Linked DNA regions of Homo sapiens: all the other regions are linked to region 1. The links are contacts of gene promoters, found by promoter capture Hi-C in blood cells and fetal thymus (Javierre and others, 2016). All regions are on one chromosome and are shown on one strand. Each heading gives the region's core, a stretch centred on a gene start or on the middle of the fragment in contact. The rest is flanking DNA. Distances are from core to core; before and after follow the strand shown. Region 1 holds the start of PTTG1IP2 (PTTG1IP family member 2). Region 2 holds the start of STEAP2-AS1 (STEAP2 antisense RNA 1). Region 3 overlaps STEAP2-AS1 (STEAP2 antisense RNA 1).

Region 1 (4,325 bases), core at 1,354-3,853:
CTACTAAAAAAAAAATACAGAATTAGCCAGGCATGGTGGCACATGCCTGTAATCCCAGCTACTTGGGAGGCTGAGAGAGGAGAATTGCTTGAACCCAGGAGGTGGAGGTTGTGGTGAGCTGAGATCGCGCCATTGCACTCCAGCCTGGGCAACAAGAGAGAGCAAAACTCTGTCTCAAAAAAAAAAAAAAAAAGAAAAGAAAAGAAAAGAAAAGAAAAGAAAAAATAAAGGGGAAGGAGCTAGTGCAGGTGAGAACCTTCAGACAGCAATGCAGGTCTGACATCAGTGAAGAGAGAGGAAAGGAGGAAGGAGAATTTGGTTGGTAGAGTTTCAGAGTGCAGCACAATTCTAAGAAAGTTTCAACCACTTTGATGGGGAATTTTCAAGCCAAAATCTTCCACTAAAAGTATCCCATATTAGTACTCCTTCCCATGTTTAGTCTTGCCTGAGAGTAGCTTGTAGGAAGCATGGCCTTGAGATGAATATGGTGGATACATCTGAGGGACAGCAGCTGAGTCCATCAGTCAATTTTAATTTGATATGGGCATTTTAATGGCCATATTCAACATAGTCTTTTTTTCTTTTATTATTATTATTTTGAGACAGGGTCTTGTTCTGTCACCCAGGCTGGGGTGTAGTGGTGCAATCTCCGTTCACTGCAACTTCTGCCTCCTGGGCTCAAGTGATCCTTGCACCTCAGCCTCCTGAGTAGCTGGTGCACACTACCATGCTGGTTAATTTTTTGTGTTTTGTTTTGTTTTGTTTTGTTTTTTGTAGAGACAGGGTTTCACAATGTTGCCCAGGCTGGTCTTGAACTCCTGGAGTCAAGCAATCTGCCTGCCTCAGCTTCCCAAAGTACTAGGATTATAGGCATGAGCCAACGTGCCCATCTCCCACATAGACTTATGATGGCTTTTAGCAGCTACAGAGACTAAGTCCTTCCAAATTTGAATCCAGAGGAAGACAAGCATCTTTATCCTAGCATTCCTAGCAAAAGCTCTGAGATTGACTTGGATTAGACCAACCTAGGTCATGTGCCCCACTCCTGAGCCAGGCATGGTGGCCAGGGAAGTTTTATGACCTGCTTTGCTCAGGTGTAGTTTTCATGTCCTACTTCCAAAGTAGGAGTTGGAACTCCACCCATACCATGAGAACTGAGAGGCAATGAGGGGCAGGTCTCCAAGAAACAATATGAACATAGAATATATGTATTTTTCATTTTAATGGCTGCTTTAGAAAGCAACAAGTTTGCTTTCTAAAGACACTGTAACAATTTACAGTTCCTCCAAAAAGTATAATAGTACCTTTTCCCCCACAACTTCACCAATGATATCTTAGTTTTCTTTTTAAATGCTTGCCTACCTGATGTTTACATTATTAGTTTTAATTTATAATTTCCTAGTTCCTAGTACTAGTGTTTCTAAACTATTTTTTTCATATATTCATTGGCTACTTGGATTTGCTTTTCTGTCCATGGATTCTCCACATCTCTTGTCCGTTTTCCTATTGTTTATCTTTTGTCCTTTTTTTTGTCAATTTATAAAAGCACTTTTTATATTATAGCTAATAACCCTCTGTCTGTCCTCTGCATTGCAAATGGGTGAAGAAAAATTAGCCTGGAACTCTGCACATCTTCTCCTCCTCCATCTTTATTGTCCATACTAGACCCATAGTCCTCAGGATGCAGTCTAGATCAATATGCCAGGAATACTATGGGAAAACTGCAACATTTGTTTTTTAAATTTTTTTAAATAATTTTTTTAGAGAAAAGGTCTTGCTTTGTTGCCCAGACTGGAGTGCACTGATGCGATCATAGCTCACTGCAGCCTCGAACTTCTTGGCTCAAGCGATCTTCCCACCTGATCGTTTTTGAAAAACAAAACAAGATAATTCCTGGTCAAGGACAAGTTTTCATCACCCACCTCTACCCCTCCCCAACCACACATACTGGGGCAAGATTGCTCAAATTTCAGTCATTCTGGAACCACCTCCCCAATTTTTGCCATATCCTTTAAGTTGTGTACTATTTATATTTCTGAAAATTGTCCTTTTTGCACAGATTTATTTTAAAAGCATATATCGTTGCTATTACATCATTGTAACTACTGGTTATATTTTTCCAATACGCATTAAAATAAATTCATAACTATGAAAATAAAAGACATTTATGTACTACCCAAAACATACCTACCTTTAGGAAACTGCATTAGAGCACGTCAATAGGATCACCAGGCTAGTCAAGGACAAGACCAAGGGTTTACAGAGCTGTGAGTTTCACGGCCTTACCACTCATTGATCGCACAACCACTCCCATGGAGTGCAGTGGGTGGTAGGTTCATTTACATCAGAGAAAAGGCAGCATGGAAGAGTGCAACTTCTGTACACATATTCAAGTAGTGAGAATTAGAATCCAGGTCTTTCTCCAAAAAACAACAATGTAGTAGGGAAAAGTGTTGATTTGGGAGAAATAGACCTCAGTCAAGTCCAGTGGACCAACTGTACATGGTATTCAGGGCCCAGGAAGCTGGACCCAGTGCCGACGAGGATTGCACTATGAACATTCTACATTCTGGCTAGAACATTAGGGATTCTAAGGTTCTGCTGATTATGCTGGCATCCAGGGCTTGCAAGTGGCAGCTTCAGCACCCAGGGCTGTGGTAGGTCACAGTCTCTGGGCGGGTCTCAGTGTCCAACACTGTAGCTGGTGCCTGCCAGGTTCCCAGTGGCTGGGGTCACCAGGTCTGAAGAGAGATGTGCTGGCTGCGGGCATGGGGCCAGATCCTCCTGCCAGTTTTCCTCTCCCTCTTTCTCATCCAATTGCTTATCAGCTTCTCAGAGAATGGTTTTATCCACAGCCCCAGGAACAATCAGAAACCAAGAGATGGGAATGAAGAGGGTGAGTGATCTGGAGTCCTGAGGTGGGTGCCCCACATGCTCCAGCGTTTTTTTTCCTTTTAATGGTGCCATCCTGGTGCACTGGAATTTTCATCTCAAAAGTTGTCATTTGGTGTTGGTGGGAAGACATTTTAAAGGTTCTAGATGGTTTTGGTGAAACTCAGTTAAATTGGACTCAGATTAATTTGGTTTATCTGAAATATGAAAGGTAGATTCAAAGTTTTAAATTTGAGGAAAAGCATGGTTTCTCCCCCATCACTTTCTGCATGACCTATGACATATAAGCTTTTTGTTGTGAATAAGCCATTGGGTTTTGTTCTAATCAGACCCACTCAATGGTCATAGTTCCTCTTTCTTAAGTTTTTTAAGGTCTTAGTTAATAAAATGCTTTATTTGTTCTTTTTCATAAAAAAATTACTTCAGTTTGGAGGCCTCTCTCGATTTCCTTCCAAATTGAAAAAATTTTGAAATGTTAAAAGTCATGCTGAGTTAAATTCATGAACCTGGAAATAAGGTTTTAAGTATCCTAAATTGGAACCGTATAGACAAAATAAGAGACAGAATTTGAATTACTTGGAAAGTGCCCTGTAAAGCCAAGATTGCCATTTTTACAAAGACAATGAGACAGAATAATTACTGCTGTCTGGTTTCCAGAGTAGAAAAGAATGTTAGTATCTGTAAGCAAATCAGTCTTCCTTACTAAAACCAAATCCACAGTTCTCAGCGTTGCACTGAAATAAGAATCTCCTTCGAGGGGGTAGGGTTGGGGCGACGCTGAATTAAAAGAGCTAGCTTGTTTTCTTTGGTTTCATCTTTCCCACAGATTTCTCTTTTTTAACCTCTTGGTCACCTCTATACATACTCTAAGAGAAATAGTGTTCCAGTGCCATCCTGGCCCCTTCTCCCAACAAACAGCACCTGAAAGCATAGGCCCAAACATAAAAACAAATTCTTCCTTTTGTTCCCTAGCAAACTGGACTCATACCGGAAATTTTTCACGTCTTAAGACTTTATCAAAATGCTGATGAAGAACAAAAAAAAAAAAAAAAAGAAAAAAGAAAGAAAACAAATAAAATAAATCAAAAATCACATCTAAGATAATCTCCAAAGATGGAAGTTTCTGTTGCTAGCTAGCTCACTTCTAGGGCTGGCCAACTGGAGCCCATGTTTCTAAGGAAACACCTTGCCTGCCAAGGGCCTCTCCTGAATGCTTGCATCTTAGTCTCAGGCCAGTTCCCCTTAGTGCTTGCATTTAATCTTCCCATCTAACAAGGATATGGTTTCTTAGACATCATGATACTTTTCACTTCCAAAACTGAAAAGGGGCTTCTAAGCCTTCACGAGATCCTCATCTATGTCCCAGATTGTGCCCTAAGTGACAGGCAACAGACAGGACTTTGTGAAGGATTGCACATCAAGTGAGACCTCCC
Region 2 (4,063 bases), core at 708-3,207, 260 kb before region 1:
CTTGCTAGAGCAGCATTTAGGCAAACTAGTGCCTAAAGTCACACATTTTGGGAACTACCACTCTAAAGTTATTTAATTGTATAATAACTTCAAAGGAAAAAAATGTGTTAATGCCCCTAGGCCACTAGAGATCCATTTAATAATTATTGCTTCGCTTCAGTTGAGTCACTTACTACTTTAGGGAACAGAAGAGATTTCTCAGAGAGCACCTCATGACCTGGAAAAGTCTTGCAAAATCATTTTCATACTCTGCATCTCCAGCTGAAAAACAATGATAAAATTAGTTACCATGGAAGTTAAAGGAATCATGCTTTGCATTAACACCAACAGTCTTCTGGAACACATTTGGTAACATTAGATTTCCCATCAAAGATATTTGTTTATTTTAATAGTTCAAGCATGAAAAAGAGATATCCCTTTTGGAAGCTGCAAATTGTTGACTCACTGATTCTCATTTAGGAAAAGGGATTTCACATTACTTTATCTATTTTCTCAATAGTCAAAGCCCATGTTAAGAGAGCTTTTAAACATATTTAAAATATATGGCTTACCTACATGTTTTACATGATAATTTATGGTTATAGAAGTTAGAAAGTGCAATTTCTTTTAATATCCCCGTGGGGAAGTTATATAATTCTATAGTTTTTTAAAATATATGGAAAAGCAATATACTTTCCGTTAACTGCTAAGATTCATGAATTTTCTCCACAAGTTCTCCAGAGGAACTACTAGAAAAAACTCCACGAATCTCATTATTTGACAGTTTTGTTGAAGTGAAATTATTAAAATTGATATTAGATTTAATGACTTGTTTCCAGTAACCAAAATGGAAAGTATTCTACCAGCTGTCGATGGTTCCACACCCTGACACATCGTTAAAACCTTAGCTTCTGCCTAAACTTTAAACCTTAATAATATTTGGCGGTAGGGGAGGGGTTACATTTCAAGTCAAACAAAGGATGTATTTCCAAAGCAGCATTTACAAAGGTTAATCTGTGTATGGACTACAAAGGGGAAAGTGCAGTGCCCCAGTGATCGATCTAAGACCCCCCTCTCGTTGTTGTTGTTGTTGGGTTTTTTTGGTCTGGTTAATAAACCACCTAGAGGGATAATTTTTAAACTTAATTTGTTGAAATGGTACTTTACTAATGTATGAAAAAAATTTCCCCAAATTTGAGAATTTTTGGTAAGTTGATTTTATATTTGGGAATAAAGATCTCTTGCTTCTTCTACTGACACCTTCTACACAAAAGATAAAAGGTACTTTTACTTGGTAATCCGCAGGGAGAAAATTTACAGAAACCCAGAGCCAAAGGTGCTCTCAGGGGATCCCCTGAAACATTCAAAGCCATTGCGGCCCCAGAAGGTAAATGGCTTTCGCAGGAACACAGGTCTCCTGACTCACGGCCTAACCTTCCTTTCCCCCACACCAAAGCTCGCGCGGCACCAGCTAGAGTGAAGGTCAAAGTCAACAGAATAATCTCTGCAGTCCAGGGTCTGTGAGGGTCCTCCTATCCGAGGGAGTTTTCATGAAAGGGCATTTCCGAACATTTTATTCCAAGGACACAGTCTAGTCAAAAGACGTTTGGGATAGGGTAAACATGAGGCAAAAGAACACTTACAAAAGAAAAAAGCGCAGTTTCTTGGAGGCTTGTCAGAAGCTAAGACTGGGGAGATGAGAACCAGGGCCCTTGGCGAGAGTTGGGGTGGGAATCGCGTAAGAAAAGCAATTTCTAGAGCGGAAAGGTGACCCCACATTACAAAAAGAAATGGAGTAGAAAAATAGGCTTGACTATTCTAAAGCTGCTTCAGAAAGAATCTCCGGAAGACCACGGAGGAACCCCGCAGGGGAGCCAGGCGGATACTCAGCCGCTCGCGGTAGAAGGGCGCGCAAAGCTGCGGAGCCGCGTGTGTGGAGCTCCCCAGTGCACTCACTGCTGGCTCCCCCTCGGTGCTCTGGGCCCTTCCCAGCTCCCTCCACACAGCCCGGCTCCCTTCACACACCCCCGCCCCCTCCGAGCTCCCCGACTCCTCCCCGCGCTCCACGGCTCTTCCCGACTCCAGTCAGCGTTCCTCGGGCCCTCGGCGCCACGAGCTGTCCGGGCACGCAGCCCCTAGCGGCGCGTCGCTGCCAAGCCGGCCTCCGCGCGCCTCCCTCCTTCCTTCTCCCCTGGCTGTTCGCGATCCAGCTTGGGTAGGCGGGGAAGCAGCTGGAGTGCGACCGCCGCGGCAGCCACCCTGCAACCGCCAGTCGGAGGTGCAGTCCGTAGGCCCTGGCCCCCGGGTGGGCCCTTGGGGAGTCGGCGCCGCTCCCGGGGAGCTGCAAGGCTCGCCCCTGCCCGGCGTGGAGGGCGCGGGGGGCGCGGAGGTGAGCGGGTCGGGGAGGAGCGCGAAAGAAGGTAGCGGCGGCGGAGTTGAGGGTCAAGATGCAGTCTGCGCCACGCGCTGCATCCATCCTCCCCGATTCTGCGCCCTCACCGGGCGTCCGCCCTGAGCTGCGGGGTCCCTCATCTCCTGGCACCTTAAGGTGGAAAGTGAGAAGGGTGGAGAAGGGTGTCTGTTCCACTGATTCCCCCTCCTCCTCCTCTTGGTTCCTAGAGCTAAGGGCAAGTCCTGAGGTTGGGCCCAGGAGAAAGAAGGCAAGGAGACATTGTCCCAGGTAGGATGTGTCCCAGCAGGAAAGGACAGGCAGGTTACTTTCGCCCCCTTGATAGTCTCCCTGCTACTTTGGGTTGATGCAGGGCATTTCATGGAAGATCATGCAGTGCTGCTTTGCGAACAGGTATTTCTAGCAGTCATTTGGTTTATTTCCCAGTAATGTAATCGTGGTGTTTAGGCCATTTCTGTTAGAAAGTAATTGGCCTCTTCTTTGACTGTCCTAAATTATCTTTGAACCCTGTGTTCAGCCTCAGCCAAAACTTGTTGAAAATTATGCCCTAAAAATCTTGCTCTTAAAATAGAGCAGAGAGATAAAGAGCATTTTTGTTGGAAGATTTCCATTTATTATCTCTCCCACCCCGTGGAGAAGGATTGGTGTCAGTTTTTACTCCTCGGGCAGTTAGTTTTTTAGATGGAAAGACAGTCCAGGCCATAGTTAATTATCGCTCATCAGTATAGGAGAAAAAGAATTCAGACTCCTGCCCCACCCCCACCCCCACCCCCAACCTCCTGACTTAGATTCTGGTCCTTTTAACAGCCCCGCTGCTTGGAACCCTTTTTGTTTTCTAAACCACCTCCCCATCCTTCCTTTTCTCCACTTTATTATTTCTTCATTTTATTGATCTGTTTATTTTTTCTTTCTTTAACCCTATAATTTTTTTACTCCGATTCTCTCTTGGTTGCTTCAAAGCTTAGAGGCTATTTAATGGAAAAGCAAAACAAAACAAAACAAAACACCCGTCCTAAATAATTTGCAGGATGTTTAGAAACATAAAGAGTAACTATGTGTGCTGCCATTGGGATGGCTGCACTCTCTGCCTCTTAGCTAGTCACTCTGTCAGGGTATGGGGAAATGAGACAATATTGAGAATGACAACTTGAGCAAATTGTGCAGTAAGGAAATGAAAAGCTTTATCCAAGTCACTTTTTATTGTACTGGTGCTATGGAAAATGTGGTGAATGAACATAGTTGTATTTTAGTACTGAAAAAACAGGACAGGTGAAGACAAATTTTTAAAGAAAGGATTGTAAATGAGTTAGAAAAGTGAGAAAGAAGATACACCAAAAATGTGAAAGAGTAAGACTGCAGGCGTGATAAAGGACATAGGACATCAGGAGATGTATTTATCCCTGCTGGGCCAGAAACCAGGACATTGAGGTAACTGAGACATTAACATAACAATAACATTGATAAATCACCTACCCCTTAAGGGCCCACATGTGTTTTCAGCAAAAAGAGAAATCTGATCTAGAGAATTATTACATGTCTTTTTGTCCTGAATTTTTTTGATGTATTCCATAACAAAGAATTTTTATTGCATCCTTAGTTACACTGCCAGCCAATGTGGAGGCAGTGATCACGGACAAGACAAACATGGTTCTTCCCTCGTGCAGTTTATTGTCC
Region 3 (3,959 bases), core at 452-2,951, 290 kb before region 1:
GAAAAAAATTATGCTACAAAAATATAGTAATCAAAATATCATGGTACTGGCATAAAAATGGACACATAGATAAACAGAACAAAATAGAGAACTCAGAAGTAAAGCCATGTACCTCCAGCCAACTCATCTTTAACCAAGTTGACAAATGTAGAAGAATGAAACTGGTCCCCTATCTCTCACCATATACAAAAATTAACCCAAGATAGATTAAAGACTTAAATTTAAGACCCAAAACTAAAAAAATCCTAGAAGAACACCTAGGAAAAACTCTTCTGGACATTGGCCTAGACAAAGAATTCATGACTAAGGCCTCAAAAGATTCAGAGGGGTAGGAGGGGAGTAAAGGATGAGAAATTACTCAGTAGGTACAATGTACGTTATTTGGGTAGTGGTTACACTAAAAGCCCAAACTTTACCTTTATGTAATATAACCATTTAAGAAAACGAACTTGTATTCCCTAAATTTATACAAATTAAAAATGAATGAATGAATGAAACAAGACACATGGGCAAATTATAAAACTGTGCTATGAATTAAGATGGTGTGATTAACTATTTACACCCAGGATCCAAAAAGGAGAAAACTTTACATATTAATAGGGAAACTAATTTCCAAAATAGATATAGCTGAAGATTAATTTACAGAACTAAACGTCTAAACTGAGGGATTCTCCCAGAACACAGTTCAAAAGAAAAAATTCATAAAATGGAAAACTTTAAAGAAGAGTTAAGGGGCATGAAAAGAGACCCAAATGATCTCAAATACCCATTGTGTAAGTTTCAGAAGGATGCAATAGAAGCAATAAAATAAGAAAACAAATAAATAATGGAGGGAAATTTCTTGGAGCTAGAGAAAGACACTAGACTTCAGAGCAAAACCTCTGTAAGATGAAGGGGCTGAGGAGGGAGGGGAGGAATGCACGCCTTTGCAAGCTTGATGGAACTTCAGGCCACCAAGGATAAAGAGAAAAATCCCAAAAACTTCCATAAGGAAGAAACAGACTTTTTTCTTTGGAAAGAAGAATCTGATTCCAAATAATTGAGGAGACAAAGTAGGTGATTATGCACATTGCTAAGATTTGGCTCTAGAAAAAGCTGGGCAGTAGATGGTATTGCTAGAAGGGATGTCATCAATAGTGAGCTAAGTGTACTAAAATTATCATTTTTCTCACAAAGCTTCATGTTCTGAAGGGAAAGAGGCAATTATAATTCTGGTCCCAGCTATAAATGGGCTGGTGCCAATGTATCATCACCCAACTGCTTCTCTAAAATCCAGCTAGCATCCGTCTCTCATAAGAAGCAGCATTTATACGAAGACATTCTAATGTCTACACATCTATAATCCAATATCTGTAATATAATCTATAATCTAATATCTGTAATCCAATATAATATCTGTAAATGCTAACTAGCATCATTTCAAATTATAAACCCCTATGAAGTCTCCCTGATAACTGACAATGAAGCCAGCATACGGAGACTTTTCCAGAGTCATGAGCTTGTGGGTGGCAGAACAAGGGCTGGGAGGCAGGCCTCCTGACTTTGTAGCCAGTACTGGTGCCACCATGTCATGCTGACAGCTCAGCACCAATCCTTCTATACTCTCGTGTTTTCTCCTGTTTGTGATAAAGTATGTACATCTGTGTCATTGGAAGGCTTGGAGAAGAGTCCAAAGGTGCAAAACAAAGCAAATCTCCCCACGCCTGGCAGAATCTTCAGTCCTGGCCTAATGAGCTCACCAGCTCAGTAAGTTCTGCGACTGCTTCGGGTTACCAAAAGAATAGAGTATGTAACAGTGCTAGGAAAAGAGACACTTAAAAACCCACATCCAGGCATTGTTCAATGACTGCTCATAAATACTTTATGGCAAAATTCTTTCTGGTGGCACAGAAGGCCATGAACAATCTGACACCTCCATTAGTCACCTCTGTTAGTCACCACTACGACTTCCTGACCCATCTCTGGGTTTCACTTCAGTTTTTAGATACCCAGCCCTAACAATTAAGCAAAACTTCATTGATAGTTCCTCTTCAAAAGTATTTCCAGAATAACTATTAAAATCCCATGGACTAGTCAAGATAGTGAGATATGCTTTTGAGTGAACAGCCACCATTTCTTCCTTTTAGAGATTTATTTTTTAACTTAACAAAAAGCAAATCTAATGTGAAACTTAATGAAAATTGTTTCAAAAACTTGAAATGCAACTACAAAATAGCCCATTATTGCCTAAGCTTTCTATACTTAACTAGTTTTCTAAATCTATATTACATAGGCTAGAGAAATAACATATTGTTTTTATATGTACAATCCAAATCTAGTCTCTCCGAATTTTCTTTAAGGCCAACTATTTTAATATAGGCCAGTATTTTACTCTATTATTCAATCGCAAACCACGTTTCTTTCCTCACAGTAGTGCATTTTGACAAAATCAATCTTTTCATTCTTTTCAGCAAATAATACAGAAATTGGGATTCATTCATGAGAAGTCAGTGAAAATAAAAATGATTTCAGATTTTCTTTACATTTGTATAATATCACTAGTAGAGGAGGAATGGCTTTCCAGACCACTTGTTAGGAAAAAAATATGAGTGGGAAATTACACTAAGCCTATATAAACAATTCCAAAGTAGAATTCTCTTTTCTCCTTGGTAAATAAATGCTTGATTTTCATAATTCAACATATAATTTTAAACTAGGGCAACCAAACTTGTGACATGAAAAGAGGAATTTTATTGTTAAGTTACACTGGTATACTGCAAAGTCATACCAAAAAAAAAGGAGCAAAATATATTTTTTAATAATCTTACACAAGAATGCTCAAGAATCTTCTACATGAGGTAACTACAGAAAAAAAGAACACTAGGTCAGCTGAAGGCTGAACTAAATTTGTTCCATAAAAGTTGGTGAGTTTCATTTTTCGCTTCTAAGGGGATAAAGGAAAAAGAATGTGCATTGTGTTTAAGAAAACCCAGAATACTGCCAAAAGTTTGCCACCCACTTTGGCATTCTGCCTTTATCCTGAAAGATAATTTCTTCTCCATTATAAACAGCCTATGTGAGATGAACTGTCAACAAGAGGGAAGCTAGAGTGAGAAACAGAGAAAAAGAACAGCATCATGCAAGGAAAGTTATGAAACAAATTGACTCTTGATTCTCTCTTGGCTTGCCTTTCTTAATGCAAATAGAATTAAAAAGTCAAATAGCCCTAATGTTAGCCAGGTGAAGTGTGGTTAGAAATGGTTGACTGGAAATTCCCTTGCTTTCATCAAACAATTGTTATGTGAATATTGCATCAGCTTGGTCCTTTTGATGTTCCTACATGACTTAAGAAAACTTTGTATTTCCAGTAGTGTATTTCCAATGACAAAAACTCTGCTGTGTGATTTTAGAAAATCACTAAAATTACCAGTGCTTTTGCTAGATCTTTCACAGTTGCAAAAACAAATGTTTTTGAACAAGGCTCTATTTTTCATGAAAATATTCAACTGAATGCAGGGAAAGTAAATGCAAAATATCTAGGGAAGGCACCAATCAAATCATGCAAGAAGAGATTTTTCTAGACTTCAAAGAAAAAGTATTCAGTGACTCCAAGGTGTGGGGCAAGGGAGGCAGGGGAGTGATGAATTTGTTTTCTTTGCATTGTTCCACTTCCTTGTTTGCTGTGTTGCACAAACTCTATTGAATATCAAGATTTGGCCTCTTATGAATAAGATACTTAATAGAGAAGAATGTCAGTTTTTTCAAGCCCATAAATACCTTTTAAATGTTCTTAGAATTTTACAATTGGATGAAAAAGCATCAAAAAACATAGTTTGTATAATTTTATCATTAAAAATATTTTCCATTATTATTCAAGGAGTTCATTGATGCTGAATACAAAATGCCTAAGATTTATTATTTAAGTTTATGAGCTAAAGGAAATCTTAGTGTTTATCTAGCCTAACTTCCTTGTTCTACAT

The links. Contacts are between HindIII fragments. The CHiCAGO score rates a contact against its expected background, and 5 or more counts as called.
Region 2: a contact is called between the fragment with the promoter of STEAP2-AS1 here and the fragment with the promoter of PTTG1IP2 in region 1, in 17 of 17 cell types (total CD4 T cells, total CD8 T cells, naive CD8 T cells and 14 more). The highest score is 39.9, in total CD4 T cells.
Region 3: a contact is called between a fragment that was not itself captured here and the fragment with the promoter of PTTG1IP2 in region 1, in 1 of 17 cell types (naive CD8 T cells). The highest score is 5.6, in naive CD8 T cells.

Annotation. Positions count from the first base shown.
Region 1 is chr7:90,467,036-90,471,360 of GRCh38, forward strand. PTTG1IP2 (PTTG1IP family member 2) reads left to right here and starts at 2,604. Exons shown (of 7, transcript NM_001365443.2): 1 at 2,604-2,896. The coding sequence starts at 2,752. The HindIII fragment of the contact is 9,262 bases long and covers 1-3,178 here.
Region 2 is chr7:90,209,678-90,213,740 of GRCh38, forward strand. STEAP2-AS1 (STEAP2 antisense RNA 1) reads right to left here and starts at 1,958. Exons shown (of 3, transcript NR_110029.2): 1 at 1,623-1,958; 2 at 174-261. It overlaps STEAP2 (STEAP2 metalloreductase), which reads left to right and starts at 2,063. Exons shown (of 6, transcript NM_001244944.2): 1 at 2,063-2,368. RefSeq lists a silencer at 2,166-2,225. The HindIII fragment of the contact is 5,296 bases long and covers 1-3,347 here.
Region 3 is chr7:90,177,212-90,181,170 of GRCh38, forward strand. The region is part of intron 2 of STEAP2-AS1 (STEAP2 antisense RNA 1); the gene reads right to left. Among named protein-coding and RNA genes, the nearest start is that of STEAP1, 25 kb to the left of the region's middle. RefSeq lists enhancers at 1,683-1,742, 1,753-1,802, 3,021-3,522. The HindIII fragment of the contact is 1,055 bases long and covers 1,175-2,229 here.